Linked DNA regions of Homo sapiens: region 1 is linked to region 2. The links are contacts of gene promoters, found by promoter capture Hi-C in blood cells and fetal thymus (Javierre and others, 2016). All regions are on one chromosome and are shown on one strand. The core of a region is centred on a gene start or on the middle of the fragment in contact, and the rest is flanking DNA. Distances in the headings are between cores, read along the strand shown. Region 1 holds the start of PABPC3 (poly(A) binding protein cytoplasmic 3). Region 2 holds the start of ATP12A (ATPase H+/K+ transporting non-gastric alpha2 subunit).

Region 1 (5,486 bases), core at 1,973-4,472, 420 kb after region 2:
TTACACTCCCACCAACAGTGTAAAAGTGTTTGTTTTTCTCCACAACCTCACCAGCATCTGTTGTTTTTTGATTTTTAGTAATAGTCAGTCTGACTGATGTGAGATGGTACCTCATTCTGGTTTTGATTTGCATTTCTATAGTGATCAGTGATGTTGAGCTTTTTTTCATGTTCATTGGTCACATGTATGTCTTCTTTTGAGAAGTGTCTATTCATGTTCTTTGCCCAAAAGTGTGTATTTTTGTACTTCTCTATTTGGACAAGTACAGAAGTGTCATTTTGTATGTTTCTATTTGGACAATATGTGTAGGTGCAACATTTACAACCCCACTGTACAATCTGACACCATTGTCCACAATAATATGTCAACAGGGTAGCCTGACAGCCCATATTTGAGGCTTTCCACTTTTAATTCTTTTTTAAACATAAGAATCGACTTTATTCTGCCTTATTTGTGCATAAGACTACCTTCAGTATTATCTGACGACAAACCAAAGACTAGATGTTTTCTACAGATTACCAACTCTCCAGAAGAGAAGCAGTCAAACTTATAATTGCTAAAAATCATGAAATGAAAAGGAAGCTCCACAAAAGGGAAGAGGGAAAGTGTAGGAATTAGACATGGGGATTTCCATTCCCTGTTACTCTGGAAACCATGGTGACTGAGAGCTGTGATTAAACCATATAATATGCCGATATAAACTTAGAAGAATCTGGGAAAGAAGAAATTTCTCTGGCCAGGTGTGGTGGCTCACGCCTGCAATCCCAGCACTTTGGGAAGCCGAGGTGGGTGGATTGCTTAAGCTCAGGAGTTGGAGAGCTCAGGAGTTCCAGACCAGCCTGGGCAATATGGCAAAACCCCATCTCTACCAAAAATACAAAAATTAGCTGGGTGTGGTGGCATGTGCCTCTAGTCCCAGCTACTTGGGAGGCTGAGGTGGGAGGATCTCTTAAGCCTGGGAGGTGAAGGCTGCAGTGAGCTGCGGCCACTGCACTCCAGCCTGGGCAACAGAGTGAGGCCCTGTCTTCAAAATAAAAATAATAATAATAATAAATAAATCCCTTCTATCTATTCAGTTCCTTTTCCTTCCAGACAAAATTTTTCCACACAAATCAATTTGTTTGCTAACTGCATCAGGATTTTCTCTAAACCATAATACAATCGGCAGATTAGTTGTCCAGTGGAAATAACCTTCTCCTGTATGGTCTAGGCTTGTTTTAAATGCTCTACCATCACTGGGCTTGGGATTGCAATCCTCAAAACTTCTGGGAAATCTGAAAATGAAGTTACAAATTAAATCATAGGTCTCCAAGAAGCCTGGAATTTTGATACATTCATCCCGGTTTTCTTCCACCCAAGTGTATATTCCGTGGGCTGTATCTGTGGGGAATCTGCTTTCCTGCCCATGAACACACCGAAATGGTTCTGCGAAGATGCCTTTCTCTGGAAGAGCATTTTGCTTTTGTTAATGAGGCAGAAAATCGATCTCATATTGTTGAGTAACCACACCCTTCCTAGCACTTGGTTTTTACAAGACCACATTGTTGAAATGATGGACGTGCTCCTAAAAAGCTGTGTATCAACTTCATTTTTAAACTTTTAATTGAATTTTATATTAGTGGCAACCACTATTTAAAGAAACCCTCTACTCTAGGCTAGGCGCGGCGGCTCACGCCTGTAATCCCAGAGCTTTGGCAGGCGTAGGTGGGCGGATCACCTGAGGTCAGGAATTCTAGACCAGCCTAGCCAACAAGGCGAAACCCCGTTTCTACTAAAAACAATACAAAAATTAGCCAGGCGTGGTAGTGCCTGCCTGTAATCCCAGCTATTCGGGAGGCTGAGGCGCTAGAATCCCTTGAACCCGGGAGGTGGAGGTTGCGGTGAACCAAGATCGCACCACTGCACTACAGCCTGGGTGACAGAACGAGACTCTATCTAAACAAACAAACAAACAAAAAACCCTAAAATAAATTATTTGTAACATGAACAGAATGAACAGATCCTCCCCCAAACTGATATTTTTTGTGGGACTGGACCTTTCTTAAAGGATTTTCTTAAATAGAATTATTTCAGATCATCACTTACTTAGATGTGTAGCTATATTAGGTCACAAGATTGTGTACTTATAATCATAAAACGTATACTTAATAATGAATCCCAACCTGACCTCAAAAGACTATATCATATAATACTATATTAACATTACATATTTATTGGTCGGGCACGGTGGCTTACGCCTGTAATCCCAGCACTTTGGGAGGCCGAGGTGGGTGGATCACGAGGTCAGGAGTTCAAGATCAGCCTGGCCAAGATGGTGAAACCCCGTCTCTACTAAAAATACAAAAAATTAGCCAGGCTTGGTGGTGGGTGCCTGTAATCCCAGCTACTTTAGAAGCTGAGGCAGGAGAATCGCTTGAACCTGGGAGGTGGAGGTTGCAGTGAGCCGAGATCGCACCACTGCACTCCAGCCTGGGTGACAGAGCAAAACTCCGTCTCAAAAATAAATAAGTAAAATAAAAATAAATAAATGAAAAATAAAATTACATATTTATTATGTTTTATATTGTTATATAATATAAAAAGTCGGTTTTTCGGGGTTTTTTGTTTGTTTGTTTGTTTGTTTGAGATAGTCTCGCTCTGTCACCCAGACTAGAGGGCAGTGGCGCGATCTCTGCTCACTGCAACCTCCACCTCCCGGGTTCAAGCGATTCTCGTGCCTAGGCCTCCCGAGTAGCTGGGATTACAGGTGAGCACATCAAGCCCAGCTAATTTTTTGTAATTTTAGTAGAGACGAGGTAAAAAGTAGAAAATATTTTATAAAAATATATTTGTGTAAAGTAGAACATATATAAAAACATACTAAAGGAGAAAGGAGAAAAAAATTCTTTCATTTATTTTTTTCCCAGGCATTTTAAATTTGGATTATAAAAATCATTTTAGAAAAATCATTAATGCTCTTTTACAAAATAACCCGGTGAAGCAGCTGAGCCCGAGCCGCCCGCCAGCGGCCCCGCAGCAGCTCCAAGAAGGAACTAAGAGACCAAGGCCTTCCTGCTGCCCGGACCCGACACCGCTACCCTGGCTCCCCGCCGGCAGCCGGCAGCCAGCGGCAGCGGATCGACCCCGTTCTGCGGCCGTTGAGTAGTTTTCGATTTCGGCTGATTTTTGTCCCTCTGCGCTTGCCCCCGCTCCCCTCCCTCCGGCTACGCCCCCGGCCCCGGCACGCGCTCTACTCCTGTAACGGAAAGGTCGCGGCTTGTGTGCCTGCGGGCAGCCGTGCCGAGAATGAACCCCAGCACCCCCAGCTACCCAACGGCCTCGCTCTACGTGGGGGACCTCCACCCCGACGTGACTGAGGCGATGCTCTACGAGAAGTTCAGCCCGGCAGGGCCCATCCTCTCCATCCGGATCTGCAGGGACTTGATCACCAGCGGCTCCTCCAACTACGCGTATGTGAACTTCCAGCATACGAAGGACGCGGAGCATGCTCTGGACACCATGAATTTTGATGTTATAAAGGGCAAGCCAGTACGCATCATGTGGTCTCAGCGTGATCCATCACTTCGAAAAAGTGGAGTGGGCAACATATTCGTTAAAAATCTGGATAAGTCCATTAATAATAAAGCACTGTATGATACAGTTTCTGCTTTTGGTAACATCCTTTCGTGTAACGTGGTTTGTGATGAAAATGGTTCCAAGGGTTATGGATTTGTACACTTTGAGACACACGAAGCAGCTGAAAGAGCTATTAAAAAAATGAACGGAATGCTCCTAAATGGTCGCAAAGTATTTGTTGGACAATTTAAGTCTCGTAAAGAACGAGAAGCTGAACTTGGAGCTAGGGCAAAAGAGTTCCCCAATGTTTACATCAAGAATTTTGGAGAAGACATGGATGATGAGCGCCTTAAGGATCTCTTTGGCAAGTTCGGGCCCGCCTTAAGTGTGAAAGTAATGACCGATGAAAGTGGAAAATCCAAAGGATTTGGATTTGTAAGCTTTGAAAGGCATGAAGATGCACAGAAAGCTGTAGATGAGATGAATGGAAAGGAGCTCAATGGAAAACAAATTTACGTTGGTCGAGCTCAGAAAAAAGTGGAACGGCAGACGGAACTTAAGCGCACATTTGAACAGATGAAGCAAGATAGGATCACCAGATACCAGGTTGTTAATCTTTATGTGAAAAATCTTGATGATGGTATTGATGATGAACGTCTCCGGAAAGCGTTTTCTCCATTTGGTACAATCACTAGTGCAAAGGTTATGATGGAAGGTGGTCGCAGCAAAGGGTTTGGTTTTGTATGTTTCTCCTCCCCAGAAGAAGCCACTAAAGCAGTTACAGAAATGAACGGTAGAATTGTGGCCACAAAGCCATTGTATGTAGCTTTAGCTCAGCGCAAAGAAGAGCGCCAGGCTTACCTCACTAACGAGTATATGCAGAGAATGGCAAGTGTACGAGCTGTGCCCAACCAGCGAGCACCTCCTTCAGGTTACTTCATGACAGCTGTCCCACAGACTCAGAACCATGCTGCATACTATCCTCCTAGCCAAATTGCTCGACTAAGACCAAGTCCTCGCTGGACTGCTCAGGGTGCCAGACCTCATCCATTCCAAAATAAGCCCAGTGCTATCCGCCCAGGTGCTCCTAGAGTACCATTTAGTACTATGAGACCAGCTTCTTCACAGGTTCCACGAGTCATGTCAACGCAGCGTGTTGCTAACACATCAACACAGACAGTGGGTCCACGTCCTGCAGCTGCTGCTGCTGCTGCAGCTACCCCTGCTGTGCGCACGGTTCCACGGTATAAATATGCTGCGGGAGTTCGCAATCCTCAGCAACATCGTAATGCACAGCCACAAGTTACAATGCAACAGCTTGCTGTTCATGTACAAGGTCAGGAAACTTTGACTGCCTCCAGGTTGGCATCTGCCCCTCCTCAAAAGCAAAAGCAAATGTTAGGTGAACGGCTCTTTCCTCTTATTCAAGCCATGCACCCTACTCTTGCTGGGAAAATCACTGGCATGTTGTTGGAGATTGATAATTCAGAACTTCTTTATATGCTCGAGTCTCCAGAGTCACTCCGTTCTAAGGTTGATGAAGCTGTAGCTGTACTACAAGCCCACCAAGCTAAAGAGGCTACCCAGAAAGCAGTTAACAGTGCTACCGGTGTTCCAACTGTTTAAAATTGATCAGAGACCACGAAAAGAAATTTGTGCTTCACCGAAGAAAAATATCTAAACATCGAGAAACTATGGGAAAAAAAATTGCAAAATCTAAAATAAAAAATGCAAAATCTAAAATAAAAAATGGAAAGGAAACTTTGAACCTTATGTACCGAGCAAATGCAAGGTCTAGCAAATATAATGCTAGTCCTAGATTACTTATTGATTTAAAAACAAAAAAAAGATTACTTAATTTTGATTTAAAAACAAAAAATCGTAAAATACAAAAACCAGTTAATGTTTTGTAGACCCTGGGAAAAGAATTT
Region 2 (5,508 bases), core at 1,725-4,224:
GAGAGGTGCCAGAGAACCTGACCATGGAAATGTTTTTGTCCTGCTTGTAGTAATAAACCGTCTTCCACCCTTGATACCAAAAGGAATAAGCAGCAATCTTGGGCTCAATGGCTCACACCTGTAATCCCAGTATTTCTGGGGCAGAGGTGAGCGGATCGCTTGAGCCCAGGAGTTGGAGGCCCGCCTGGGCAACATGGTGAAATCCCTTCTGTACCAAAAAAAACCACAAAAATTAGCTGTGCCTGTAGTCCCAGCTACTCAGGAGGCTGAGGTGGGAGAATGGCTTGAGCCCAGGAGGCGGAAGTTGCAGTGAGCTGTAATCACACTGCACTCCATCCTGGGCAACAGAGCAAGACCGTCTTAAGAAAAAAAAAAAAGCGGCAATCTTCTCCAAGGATCAAGGGAGGGTGCCATCAGTTAGTACTTTCTAAAGCTGTGTCACCATCTCTTTTTAGCCCACTTCCCCTCCCCGCTCCCCATCCCTCAGTCAAGTCCCTAGGATCTGAGTTTGCTTTTGGAGCTTGAACTGGCCTTGAGCTCAGAGACATCTCTCTGCGGACCCTGCTTCTCTATTCTACATCTGTCCCAATAGTTGGAGCAGGGGCTGGAACAGCTTAAGGTGAGCAGCAGCCACCTGTTCCCAAAAAACCCTTAGCTTGGATTATCAGCAGACAGTGGAACATCAGTTTCGTACACATTTTGTATTTCTCACCCCATCTGCAAACCTTTCCTTTGAAGAGTATTCCAAGAATGGAACCCAGAGCTCCCCAGAAGCACACTGTTGCTTGGGTTTGGACTAGAATTTAATGTTCCCTCCAACTCTAGAGAATCCATGATGTGTATCTTTACACCAGATGCCACTAGGAGTCTTCCTGTCCCTTATCATTTTAGTTAAGAAGTGACTCATTGCTGTCATCCTTGCTTCACAGAGGGAGGAACCCAGGCTTCAGATTCTGCCCTTTTGGAACGGAAGAAGGAGGGAGAGCGGGGAAAGACCTATGTGTGCAGCACTATGGAGACAGTTCACTATGTCGGGTACAACACATTCCCTTAGTCTCATTTGAAAGCCATGATGAACAGAGAGGTGTGGAAAATCTAAGATCACAAATATGCCATGAGAAAGTATCTTTGTCTCTACTGCTACTTTACAAAACCACGTCTCTAACTGCTAACACTTCAAATTCCCTCAAAATAAGCTTCTTTTCCCAATTGTCCCTCACCACCAACTATAGTCATGCTCTGAAATTATTATGGAAATTTAGCATCTGAAAGGAACAGGAAGTTATAATTAATTCCTAATTAGAATTGGGCACAAGCTTTTTTTTCTTATTTTTTTTTTAATTTTTTTATTGTGACAGAGTCTCGCTCTGTCGCCCAGGCTGGAGTGCAGTGGCGCGATCTCCACTCACTGAAAGCTCCACCGTCTCCCGGGTTCATGCCATTCTCCTGCCTCAGCCTCCCGAGCAGCTGGGACTACAGGCGCCCACCACCATGCCCGGCTAATTGTTTTGTATTTTTAGTAGAGATGGGGTTTCACCGTGTTAGCCAGGATGGTCTCGATCTCCTGACTTCGTGATCCGCCCGCCTCGGCCTCCCAAAGCGTTGGGATTACAGGCGTGAGCCACCGCGCCCGGCCGGGCACAAGCTTATTGTTTTTCTTCTACCTTTTCTAAATGTACCCAATGCTCTTCATGTTTTCTGCCAGATGTTCTAGTCACTGCATGATGGGATTGTTACTTTTGCTGCTTCTCTGGACTCCTCACTCTTAGTCATTTTAAATATGGTCAAAATGACAATCTTTCTTACCATATTTGATATATAACTTTCAAAAAGAATAAAACTTAGCACCCTCCTATTAGTCCTTATCTAAATGGAAACTTATTAGCAGAGCATCAAGGGCCCAATAAAGTGCCCCCTCTTTTGAAACTTATCTCTACTCCCTTTCATATATTTCAATCATGTCAATTTCTTATTGTTCTTCTAAATAGGTGCTGATTACTAAACTCTATTCGTGGGTTTTATTTTTTATGTTCCTCTCCATTAATTAATATTCTTCACTGACTTTAAGACTTCACGATTCATTCTTTTAAAAGAACGTGTTTGATTTCCTCCACTGTTAACTGCTAAATATCTCTCTGATATATTGTTTTCAGGCTATCTTTCTCATCTGGAGTAATTATGTTTCAAGTGTCAGGGGGAAAATACCTTTTCTATCCTGTGCAAAAACTCATGCTGGGCACTAAGAGCATGGAGCATGTCCCAGTTATCTATTGCTGCATAACAAACCAACCCAAACTTAGCAGTATAAAACAACCACTGCTTTAGTATGCACATCAACTTTCAGGGTCAGAAATTCTTTTCTCCTTCATGTATAGAGTCTCAGCTGGGAGTGACATAAATAGGTGGAGACAGACCTCTCCAGCCCAGTCCAGCCAACAGCCTCCGCTCCTGCGCACCCGCAGCCTGGGGCCCCAGGTTCCTGTGGTCTCACCGACCCTAATCCTCTCATCTCTCCTCCCCATTCCCTCTCCAAATTGTTTCAGAATTCCAAATTCTTATCTGGATCCGGCAAATTAATTCAGCTACTCTTCAGAGTCTCTCAGTTATTCCCAAATTCTCTCGGAAGCTTGAATTTACCTATCTAAATCCATTCTCAAAAACACATTGGCCTTTTCTAGCCGGGACATCTCCAACAGTAGTTGCTGTTAGAAACTGCAATTTCCCCTTCTCTGCATACACATTTTTATAAATTGATTTATTGGTAGGCAAATTACATTTTTAAAAAAAGGCATGTGTGGGTTTTCAGGGAAGCCTGGACAGGACGTGGGCGTGCCGGGAGCTCGCCGGAGCAGCTGGTCCGGCTCTGGGCGCCCAGCGGAACCAGGGCTGTACTCACCTGGATGCCGGACCCGCCCCCTAGAGACCCCGCCCCCTGGCGTTCGGCTACTAAAGGGAAGGGGATTCCCAGGGGGTCCTCAATCCTGGACTCTCCCGACCCCTAGCTGTCGGTCCCCCTCCCTGCGCGCGCGCCGGCGGGTTTCCTACCCTCCGAGGCGTCCGCTGGCCTGCGCCCTGGCGGGGACGTGGGCGGGGCGGGCGGCATTTAAGGCTGGTGCCACCTCCCCGGTGCAGCGGCTGGCGATCGGCCGCGGAGGTGCGTGCAGGGCCCGCGCCGCCGCCGGTATCTCCACCGCCAACACCTCAGCCACTGCCACTGCCACAGCCACACGAGGCCCCCCACCGTGCGCTCCGCCGCTGCGGTCCCGGATCCGCGCTCCACGCCCGCAGCCCGCGGCGCCACCAGCCCAGCATGCACCAGGTGCGTGCAGCCCCCGCGCCGGCCGAGGATGCGAGACGCTGGGCCAAGGCCCCGGGGACCGGAGCAGGCTGACGGGAAGCGAGGAAAAGGCGAAGAGGAGAAACGCCCCGTCCCGGGGCAAGGGGAGGCCGCCTTTCCTCTGAGCGCCCCCCGGCCTGGGCACCGCTTCTCTGACTCCCCGCCACGGCTCCGTGCGGCCGCCGGGGCTGGCTGGGGAAAGAAGCCAGTCCAGAGGAGCGAGAAGGGGCCAAGGGGTCCTAGGCCAGCTCCATGGCACCTGCGGGCTCCGACTCGGAGGATGGGGTGACATGGATTCGTTGCGGTCTGAAAAGACTTCCGGTTAGGGCCCCCTGATCAGGACTGAGGGTCGTAAGCTTAGTGGGTGCCTCCTCCCCAAGAAACAGGACGCACAGCTGTTGTGTCCCCTGGGAAGGACACCTCAGAGGAAACCTCGAGGTGCCTAAGGAACCTCGAGGTTCTAAGGAAACCTCACAGCTCCTTGGAGGCATCAGTCAGGAGTTGGGGGGGTAACTTCCCACCTGCTCCACCCAGAGAAGGGTCACCCTGAGGAGCTGCTGGCTGGCCTGTGCCCACCCCGCCTCCCCTCTACACGGACGGAGAGGAAGCCAAGGTCGGCGGGAGGTGGGGGAGAGACTCCACTGTCCGACTCCCTCCGGCCTCCCCAGAGGAGGGAAGGAAAGGGAGAAGGGGCTCCTGACTCCTGCAGGTCCTGACCCCGCAGAGGGGCGCTCAGCACCTCTTCGGAAACCCCATTTGGGGCCAATATTGCACCTGGGCTTCTCTTTCAGAAAACCCCAGAAATTTACTCCGTGGAGCTCAGCGGAACTAAGGACATCGTGAAAACAGACAAGGGGGATGGCAAGGAGAAGTATAGGGGTCTGAAGAACAACTGCCTGGAACTCAAAAAGAAAAATCACAAAGAGGAGTTTCAGAAAGAACTCCATCTGGTCAGTAGCCTTAAGCCACGGGGTCCTGCCGGCTATGGCCCTTCCCCGCAAGAGCTTGCCCCTAGAACCCACCTCTTACCACAGACATTCAGTCTGAGGGATTTGAAATCCCCTTGAGATTGTGTGTGGTGTGTGGTGTCTGCGTGGTGTGTCTGTGTGGTGTGTGTGTGTGGTGTATGTGTGGTGTGTGTGTATGTGTGGTGTGTCTGTGTAGTGTGTGGTGTGTGTGTGTATGTGTGGTGTGTGGTGTATGGTGTGTGGTGTGTGTGTATGGTGTGTGGTGTGTGTATATGGTGTGTGTAGTGTGTGGTGTGTGTATGTGTGTGGTGTGTGTGTATGGTGTGTGTGTATGGTGTGTGTATGTGTGGTGTGTGTGATGTGTGTGTGATGTGTGTGTGGTGTGTGTGTGTGGTGTGTATATGTGTGTGGTGTGTGTGTGGTGTGTGTATGTGTGTGGTGTGTGTATGTGTGTGGTATATATGTGTGTGGTGTGTGTGGTGTGTGTATGTGCATGGTATGTGTGGTGTGTGTGTAGCGTGTGGTGTGTGTGTAGTGTGTGGTGTGTATGTGTGGTGTGTGTATGTGCATGGTATGTGTGGTGTGTGTGTAGCGTGTGGTGTGTGTGTAGTGTGTGGTGTATATGTGTGGTGTGTGGTGTGTGTGTGGTGTGTGGTGTGTGTATGTGTGTGTGTGTGTTTTGAATGGTGTGATAGTATCCACCCAGAGGTCAGGGCCTCTGCAGGATTCCTGCATTCTGGTTGGAGGCAGTCCCTGTAGAACTCAGAAGGAAGAGCCTCTGATTCCAGGCCCCACAGGCATGGCCAGACCTCTCTCCCCGCAGCTGCTTCAGTGAGAGTTAAGTAACCACTTGCCAGTTTTCAATTGATTAGTAAAACTATTTGAGCTGGAACTTCTGAGGAGGAAAACCAAAGCCCCTAGGCCATGCTAGATTGCAGGTGTGAAACCTCATGGAAAAGCAGTTTCAGTGGTAAAAATGTGGAGCTTGGATTGGGAGGACCTCGGGCCCCATCAGAGTCCCACTTCTCCACTGAGCTGAAACTGGCAACAAATGACTGACCCTCACTGAAGGTCCATTTCCTTTATGTAAAATGGGAAATAAATAATTTGCTGGGGTCTATGAGGGGAAAAAATGAGATGAGGATTTTGTAATTCACGTGCTTTAGGGGAGTACAATATTATTATTATTAAGGAAGAGCTCTG

Evidence for each region. Contacts are between HindIII fragments. The CHiCAGO score rates a contact against its expected background, and 5 or more counts as called.
Region 1: the fragment with the promoter of PABPC3 here is called in contact with the fragment with the promoter of ATP12A in region 2 in 5 of 17 cell types (erythroblasts, neutrophils, naive B cells and 2 more); the score reaches 5.9 in erythroblasts.

The regions. Positions count from the first base shown.
Region 1 is chr13:25,092,914-25,098,399 of GRCh38, forward strand. It overlaps PABPC3 (poly(A) binding protein cytoplasmic 3), which reads left to right and starts at 3,223. Exons shown (of 1, transcript NM_030979.3): 1 at 3,223-5,486. The coding sequence starts at 3,286. The coding sequence ends at 5,181. It overlaps LOC124900613 (a long non-coding RNA gene), which reads left to right and starts at 2,707. Exons shown (of 3, transcript XR_941762.3): 1 at 2,707-2,746. RefSeq lists a silencer at 3,138-3,432. The HindIII fragment of the contact is 7,788 bases long and covers 1-3,993 here.
Region 2 is chr13:24,677,434-24,682,941 of GRCh38, forward strand. It overlaps ATP12A (ATPase H+/K+ transporting non-gastric alpha2 subunit), which reads left to right and starts at 2,975. Exons shown (of 23, transcript NM_001676.7): 1 at 2,975-3,319; 2 at 4,129-4,287. The coding sequence starts at 3,311. RefSeq lists a silencer at 3,023-3,332 and enhancers at 4,526-5,106, 5,206-5,508. The HindIII fragment of the contact is 1,067 bases long and covers 2,625-3,691 here.